Linked DNA regions of Homo sapiens: region 2 is linked to region 1. The links are contacts of gene promoters, found by promoter capture Hi-C in blood cells and fetal thymus (Javierre and others, 2016). All regions are on one chromosome and are shown on one strand. The core of a region is centred on a gene start or on the middle of the fragment in contact, and the rest is flanking DNA. Distances in the headings are between cores, read along the strand shown. Region 1 holds the start of AHSG (alpha 2-HS glycoprotein). Region 2 overlaps ETV5 (ETS variant transcription factor 5).

What was found. Contacts are between HindIII fragments. The CHiCAGO score rates a contact against its expected background, and 5 or more counts as called.
Region 2: a contact is called between a fragment that was not itself captured here and the fragment with the promoter of AHSG in region 1, in 1 of 17 cell types (activated CD4 T cells). The highest score is 5.2, in activated CD4 T cells.

What each region holds. Positions count from the first base shown.
Region 1 is chr3:186,611,218-186,615,577 of GRCh38, forward strand. It overlaps AHSG (alpha 2-HS glycoprotein), which reads left to right and starts at 1,843. Exons shown (of 7, transcript NM_001622.4): 1 at 1,843-2,137. The coding sequence starts at 1,925. The HindIII fragment of the contact is 5,898 bases long and covers 658-4,360 here.
Region 2 is chr3:186,102,148-186,106,605 of GRCh38, forward strand. ETV5 (ETS variant transcription factor 5) reads right to left here. Exons shown (of 13, transcript NM_004454.3): 2 at 3,677-3,795; 3 at 3,478-3,565; 4 at 3,302-3,349; 5 at 3,158-3,208. The coding sequence starts at 3,721. Among named protein-coding and RNA genes, the nearest start is that of ETV5, 4.7 kb to the right of the region's middle. The HindIII fragment of the contact is 1,025 bases long and covers 1,556-2,580 here.

The DNA.
Region 1 (4,360 bases), core at 593-3,092:
ACACTTTATTCAATTTTTCTTTTTTTTGAGTCGGAGTCCCACTCCGTTGCCAGGCTGGAGTGCAGTGGCGCAATCTTGGCTCACTGCAACCTCCACCTCCTGGGTTCAAGTGATTCTCCTGTCTCGGCCTCCCGAGTAGGTGGGACTACAGGCGCGCGCCACCACGCCCAGCTAATTTTTGTATTTTTAGAAGAGACAGGGTTTCACTGTGTTGGTCAGGTTGGGCTCAATCTCTAGGCCTCGTGATCTGCCCACCTCAGCCTCCCAAAGTGCTGGAATTACAGGTGTGAACCACCGTGCCCAGCCCTTCAATATTTTTAAAGATTATATAAAGAAAAGCATAGCTTCCACACACAGTTCAGGAGTCAGGGCCCTGAGTGAAATGGAGTATAAGGTGATGGAAGATTGCCCCTGGCTTTGAGGATCATCTTGCTGGATGACCAGAGTTTGTTTTTCATCTGGAAGAATCATGGTCCCCCTCTTGGAGAGAACCTGGAGTCCTGGCCACACCTTCTGAGCTTCTGACATTAAGATTCGGTGTGGTGTGTGAGCAGCTGGGAGTAAATGTGAGAACAGTCCTGCCAACTACCTTCTCTGCCCCATCACCACTCACTTCACCTCCCTCACCCCGATTCTCACCCCAGAAAATCAATATTAAGCTTCCCTTTGGAGGGGCCCCTCTTCTTTCTTTTTTTTTTAACCAGTTTTTTTTTCTCTGAAGCAATATCAAACATTAGAACAAATTCACCCACACACAATGATGGCCTCTAAATATTTGAAGACCATGTTGGTCTCCATGAGAGGGCTTCTTTGCTTCAGACTAAACCAAACCAGGTCCTTGTGTGATATTTCCCAAGCCTCTCTTTATCCTGCCAACCCTCCTTGGATGTCACACTTGGAATTGTCAAGGGTCACTTAATAGGCAGTGCCTGGAGTCAACACTGGCCCTCTGTTCTGGCCAGAAAGACACACTGTAATTCTGCTGAGTCTGCAAAGAATGTTCAAGGGGTATTTGTGTCCGTAGCTGCTCGTGCAGCATCTCAGCCTGCGGTGTCAGACTCGAACCCAGAGCTGTGTCAAATGAGTCAGGACTCCCCTCTGCTGCCCTTGTGCACTGGCAGGGGCACTAGGTTACTAGTGCTAGGAGACTCTGGTCAGTGCCCATCTGTGCTGTCACATGCAGGGCCCTGGCAGTGAGGTCTGGAGAAGGAAGAGAAGGGGCAGGGAACCCCACACGTTTTGCTGGTCATTTCCCACCGTGGTCCTGCCACGGGAACCCCCTTCTTCCACCTCCATTCCCCACTTTAGGCAGAAACATCTCTCATCCTTTTTCTTTTCTCCAAGAATCTTCCCCCAAAATCTTGGCATCTCCTATACACATCTGTACCTTTGCTATATCTGTGGGCCTTGTTCTCCCTGTAGGACTCCTCTTGGAAAGCTAACTCCCCCTGACATTGGAGAATTTTATCAAATTGCTGAGTATCCTCCCTTCCCTCTCACAGACCCCATGGCATGCTCAGATCACAGTAGAAGACATTTCCTCTGCTGCCAAACCCATGGCACTCTGAGGCTGACTGTGTCCACCTCATTCCCTCAGCTGTCTTCTCTTTGCTGCTATTACCATGTTCCAAGCAGACTTTGGAGCATCTCCCCCACAGCAGCATGGACTTTGGCAGATTTCTTGGGGACCAGCGATGTCCTAACCTGTTTGCTTTTCCAGGGCTGATGTTTGCAGGGTGTTTTTTTTTTTCTTTTGAACCAAAGCAGAAATCATCCTGTATCCTTATGCAATTCTTCCGGCAGGCTCCAACAGATAAATAAAGCCCACCACCCTCCATGGGTCTACCTTTCCCAGCAGAGCACCTGGGTTGGTCCCGAAGCCTCCAACCACCTGCACGCCTGCCAGGGCCTCTCTGGGGCAGCCATGAAGTCCCTCGTCCTGCTCCTTTGTCTTGCTCAGCTCTGGGGCTGCCACTCAGCCCCACATGGCCCAGGGCTGATTTATAGACAACCGAACTGCGATGATCCAGAAACTGAGGAAGCAGCTCTGGTGGCTATAGACTACATCAATCAAAACCTTCCTTGGGGATACAAACACACCTTGAACCAGATTGATGAAGTAAAGGTGTGGCCTCAGGTAAGTGGACCTGCTGTCTATGAGCTGAAATAATGTGTACATGGAGCTCAATCAGGTGCCTCAAAAAATCACCATCACCCAGTGCAAATGAAACCACAGAGGAGTAAATTCTCTGATTTCTTCCCAGGAGTGAGGGAAGGGGCAGGCAGAGGGCAGGAGAGGAGACATTCTGTATGGCAGTCATGGGTGTCAGGAGGGAGCTGGGTGGGGTGTGAGGTGGTGTGCAGGAGAAAAAGTGCTTCAAATGGTAGTGTGCAGATCACAGACAGAAAGTGTAACTTGCTGGAAAAACTAGGACCCAAGAGACCAGCTCCTAGTTGCCAAGTTACCACTGGCTGAAAATCACGTATCTGTCTTTGGTTTGGTTTCTCTCTAACAAAGACTGAGAATGAATAAAACTAGCATCTGGCAGATGCCTACTATATGCCAGGCCCATTCACATAGATTATCTCATTTACTCTTTCCCGGTCCTGCCTCCTGGTGCTGTGTGGTACATATATTGTTCTTGTCTTACCCAAGAGGAGACCAAGGCTCTGTTGTGTGTGTGTGTGCAGTTTTTTTGTTTTTTGTTTTTGTCTTTTTTTTTTTGGTCCAAAATCATATAATTACTAAGTCTTCAGGCTGGGATTTGATTCCATATCTGTGTTCCTTCTTCTACACAAACTGCCTCCCAAAGAGAGTTACCCACATCCCAGAGAGAAGTCTTGGCATAAACACAATTCACCTCCTCACACACTAGACAGGAAACCAACGCAGCTTGAAGCCAGTGACAAGAAAAATCAAGCTGGAAATATGCCTCGGGGATCAGTCAAGAGATTTGGAGAGGTGGAAAGAAGCTGTCTGCCTACTGCCTGTTTTGAAATTAGATTTATTTCTGATTAAGGACAATTCTTTCAGCAAATATGTATTACAAGCCTTCCTTGGACAAGAACCAGAGATATTAGGTTGAACCATATAAAACTGCCATTTTTCTATATCAAAAGCAACCAAATATTGGCCGTTTTAATGGTTCAACCTAATACAGTGGTGAAAAAGGCACAATATGTGCCCACAAGAGCTTACAATCTAGGTTGGAAAATAAGGTCAACAACAGGAAGCCTGGACCGACTGACGACTGCCATCCGTCTCACAAAGAGACAAAATATTTGAAATCAGGATTGCTCCGGATGGATTTTAAGAGTGCTGCAGCCATATTAAAGCACAGTGGTGGTTAGGAGGAAACGCTGATCAAGTCAGGGGAAATGAACACGCAACACGCACATCTGAGGGAAAAGGTAATCATGAATGGGCATTGTGACTTTTACTAAAGGCAGAGCTTCAGAGTTGGTTCCCTTGAGAAACCCAGGTGTACCCGGTTCCTGTTCGCCAGAGCTGTGAACGCTTTCAGGCAGTCACTCTGGGCACACCTGGACATCATAAAATGCGGAGCTTCTCCCAGGGGAGGGGATGCTGAGGCTTCAGGTACTAGTGAATCAGGCAGAACCAATGAGAGGCAAACAGAGCTGGGCTGAGAGGAGAAAAGGCATACTTGTACCTTCTGGATTTTTCAGGCTTCGAAGACAAGATACAGAAACAGGTGAACTCACAAGAATATCTCCAAGGATTGTTGCAAGCTCCCTCGTGTCTACACTAGTGACATCCAGTTTCCTGTCAGAGGGAGACATGCCCTTCCCCATTATCGCCAGCAGGGGGAAGTAGAGAGCAGCATCGTTGCATGCCGGCACCTGCTGCACAAGCCAAGACAAAGGAAAAACCAAGGACAACAGCAGCAAAAACCTCTAGGAGGGAAAAGAAAACGGAGGAAGGAAGGAAAGCAAATAATGAAAAGGAAGAAAGAAAGAAGGAGAGGGAGGGATAGAGGAGATTAAAAAAAGACAGTAAGATATTACCCTACACCACCTTATTTTGCAGCTTGTCTGAGAAAAATCCAAACTTGCATTTTCCAAAGCACTGCTTGAAGAGTGAAATCTTAAAAAATTAAATAAATAATAAATACAAATAAGTGTTAACACCCATTTGTAGTTTTCAAATAGAGCTCAGAGTGAGGGCTGTGGCTCCATCGACTTGTTCAAGCCCAGGACCCCGTCTGCTTTGCGAGCATCATCTGGTGCTTCCTTAATCAACAGACGAAGACCAGACAAGCCCTGGTCATTGTCCTGCCCACAGGCCAGTTCAGAGCTAGACGGAGTTGCAGACTGACAGTAAGAATGACATTTCCCTCAC
Region 2 (4,458 bases), core at 818-3,317, 510 kb before region 1:
GTTGAACTTTTAGTGTTTAGAGAAAAAAAAAAGCCATAATCTTTAAAACTGACATTCCAAAATAAAAATATTACCTACATTTCTTAGTATTTCTCTTTCTTTCATGTATACAATAAATTTACACATATACAATGGAAAATTATCAAATCATTATTAATAGGAAAGTGTATTACCAGTGGCCACTGGTAAGAATATTTGTTACAGGCCGGGCACAGTGGCTCACGCCTGTAATTCCAGCACTCTGGGAGGCTAAGGTGGGCGGATCACCTGAGGTCAGGAGTTCAAGACCAGCCTGGCAAACATGGTGAAGCCCCGTCTCTACTAAAAATACAAAAATTAGCCAGGCATGGTGGCAGGTGCCTGTAATCCCAGCTACTCGGGAGGCTTAGGCAGGAGAATTGCTCGAACCTGGGACGTGGACATCCCAGTAAGTGGGCCGAGATTGCGCCATTGCACTCTGGCCTGGGTGACGAGCAAAACTCTCTCTCCAAAAAAAAAAAAAAAAAAAAAGGTTTGCTTTCCCCTGGCAAATCTAAGTTTGGCTTATATTCATTGGTTAAGTGAGTCAAACCAACTCATAAGGTTTCATTAAATTTGAATGAGTTTTCTTCCCTCCCCTGAAAAAAATCACGAGCTCTTCCAGAAAATGACTGGAGTGAAGCTGGTCCTGAACTCGAGGCTGTGGAAAGCGCTCATGGAAAAGTAAGTGCATGCAGCCGGCTGTGGGCTCTGCCAGCTCCTCCTCATGCTTCTGGCTGTTGGTCTGAACTGCAGGCAAACAAACTTGCTTTTGCAAGAATGAATGGCTCAAAGATGCACCACCCACATTTGTGTTCTTGCCTTGCTTCTTAAGCAAGTTATTCTATTTGAATCTATCCCTTCTTGAAGCTCTACCTCAAGAAATAAAGTCAGAGGGAAAGAATCATTAGAAGACCTTTTCTAGGCTAGTCAACCATCTCTTTTATCCTTAAAAGACAGAAAGGCTCAACCTTAGGCAGTTAAAACAAAAAGTAAGCAAAGTAAAAAAAACATCATACTTGGTAAGCAGAAACATCTCCCAAATTACCTCCACTTGAGGTATGGAATTTTAATTAAAGAACTTAGCACATTCTATTTGCTGAGCAGAAATTATTTCTAAAGAGCCAAAACACATTTATTGATTTCTTCACTTTAGCCTATTCCCACAGATAAATATCTCTCCAAATATAAATCCTGCTTGCTGACAAAGAACATACCCTTGCTTCAGCACATGCAATCAATTTGAATGCAGCCATCTCATCTCCCTTTTAACTCTTTTGGGTTACAGAGAAACAAACAAAAGTGTCATAAAAGCATTTCAAAGAACCTCTGCCAAGAAAGCCACCTCCCAAACAGACTGCAGTTTATGCTGCTCTGAGCAAGAACTGGAAAGGCTGGGCCAAATTGTCAACACAGAACAAAGTTGGATTACAAACCCTGTCTTTCATCTTGCAAACACACACACACACACACACACACACACACACACACACACACACACACACTTGGATTATCTTTATTTAGTCTTTCAGTGGCAAGCTTCCCAATCACTCGAAAGCAATCAAAGGGCAATAATTAACATGCATTTACTCTCCCATAGAACACATCCACAGCAAGCTGTGACAAAGCTAAGGTAACCATGCATGTGTGTGTTCCAGTTTATTCCCTTTTACAGTTTCATGGCATTGTGCCTTGGACATGAGGCCTATCATTAAGGAATGTTTAGCTGTTACCTCTGCTCTTACATTTAAAAGATTTGGAATACCCAACTTTTTACTTAGAGAGAGACCTAAGATACTCTCTCTCCAGTGGCATTTTTACACACATACACCCACCTACCCAGAGATAAAACAAAGCTGGGAAGAATCTGTTGGTCCAAAATGAGAAATTGAGTCCTTGCATGGCTCAGGTGCTTGCTATTATAAACTATGACTAAGAGACATGAATTTCTCTATGATGCAACTCTCAAGAGAGGCAGCATTTTCTCCAGGCCTCTCTTAAACCTGCTCATTCGCCAGTGACTAATGCTCTCTAGAGCAGCCCTGTGCTGCTCAAATTTCATCAGCCGGCTTTGTCCTTCATAACTCTGCCTAGACCATAAAAGCTCCCAAACCTGTTGAGGACAGCCCCAAAAGATCAGTGCAAAGTAACCATGCCCCTGCCAGTGTTGAAAGCCATCTTTTGAGCTTCCCACTGCATTTTCTCTCTAGTAATGAGCACTTAGTGGCCATTTTAAGAAAAAGTTTCTCTTCTCTGAAGAGAAAAGCCACAGCAACTACACGAAAAGTAAGAGTAAATCAGGCCACTCTGTGACCACCCCTTGTCAGCTTAGGGGTAGAGACAAAATTGACAACATGTTGGATGAAGCCAAAGTTAACTGGAGTTTTCCATTAACTATTTTCTGCACCTTTAAGAAAAAGAGAAATATCAGGTTCATGATTCACATCAAGGACTTAATTTATAAAACAAACCCCAAAAAAGCCATAAAACAATGTGTGATTAATAGATGCTTGGCCTAACACCAAATATATTTTGTCAGTTAATTTATAATTTTGAGCTTAAAGCTTTGCAATATTCTTTTTTTTTTTTTTTTTGAGATGGAGTCTTGCTCTGTTGCCCAGGCTGGAGTGCAGTGATGCGATCTCAGCTCACTGCAACCTCCGCCTTCTGGATTTAAGTGATTCTCCTGCCTCAGCCTCCTGAGTAGCTTGGATTACAGGCGCCCACCACCACACCTGGCTAATTTTTGTATTTTTAGTAGAGACGGGGTTTCACCATATTGGCCAGGCTGGTCTTGAATGCCTGACCTCAAGTGATCCACCTGCCTCAGCCTCCCAAAGCCCTGGGATTATAGGTGTGAGCCACTGTGCCCAGTCAGCTTTACAATATTCTTAAGGTAAAAAGAAATTTAGGATAAAATTATGTTCAGTAAATCTTACCTGCAATACAGTAGAAATACTTTAGAAATAATTTTATTATGAAATAAAAGTTTTCAGGGTTAATTCTGAATTATTAGAAGAAACTAAATGCATACTACTGTCTAAATCTGGCCATAGCTGAAAAAAGCATATTCTAGACATGGATGATCTAAGACCAAACAATTTCAGAACAAATGTGCCATCACCAGAAAGGTACTTACGGTTATCAGACTGAAAATCTGGGACAAACTGTTCATCATCAGGAACTTGTGCTGGAAAATAGATTTTTATTTTAGACCTTTAAGTTTTATTAAAAAGCACAGTAAAATGTTTTATATGGAAAATAGGACATCCATGAAACTTGCCTTCAGCTAACCAAGCCTCTTGAAGTTGACTGAGATCCTGAAATAGCTCTGAAATTGAAAAAGAAGACCCCAGAATGAGGATATTTCTTTCGCTAGGGAGAAGACAGGGAAGAATCTACACGCTACTGTCACTGGGAGCAGGGAAGCCACAACATAATCAGGGAAAGCTTTACTACCTTCAGAATCGTGAGCCAGATCTGTGTCCAAAAACTTCCTCTTTCTGTCAATCACAGGCCGCCCTCTGCATTCCTCAGATCGAGATTTCTGAAAGAGGCCAACAGAAAGTGAAGGCTCAAGTGTAGTAAAGAGGTCCACAGGGGGAAGACTCATATTGGAGAGGGAGGACAAAACAAACCAAAAGCCACATAAACTTACCCCTGGGACCATAAAAGGGACTTGCTGATCATAAAACCCGTCCATGGTGCTTTCAGCGTCTCTAATACCACTTTGAGAGGTTTCAGCATTGAGTAATTTCTGGGGGAAAAGGGATCCTCCTGTAATATGAATTTGGGAGATTTTAACTAAGAGGGGGGAAAAAAAGAAATGAAACAATTTTAGACTGCCTTTTTTTTAGGGCCTGTGCAAAATTATTACCCTTCTGTGAAGTACTTAAAACCTACTCAAGGTGCAAGCTTTACACACCAATGCCGGGCTTGATTAATGGTATCAGAGGTACAGGATGTACTCCGTGCCAAATCCATTTACCCAGTCATCATTTTTTCTTTCTTATTTAAATCATTAAAATTACAGATTTGCTACTGTCTGTTCTCTACCAAAACAAAAATAAATAAATAAAATAAAATAAAAGGGTGATTTCAAGATTCTCTCATATACTCCAGGGCATTTGTAGTAGGGTTTTTAAAAAAGAGATAATTTAATTTTTGACAGTACAGTGTCAGGAAGCAGAGAAACTGGGTTTAAGTATTCCAAATTATTGGCAATTAAAGATCTGACATACATGGTGTTTCCAAAAGCATTTTGTAGGTCACTGTTAAAACACTATATATAGTTCCTGGAATAAATTGATCAGAGGTATACTTATCTTCACACACAACTCTTTATTTAAAAGAGGACTAAACAGATATAGCATCTGTAATGTCACAAATATCTCCCTGGTTACTTACAGAGATATTTGTGACATCTCCAACTTCTAAAAG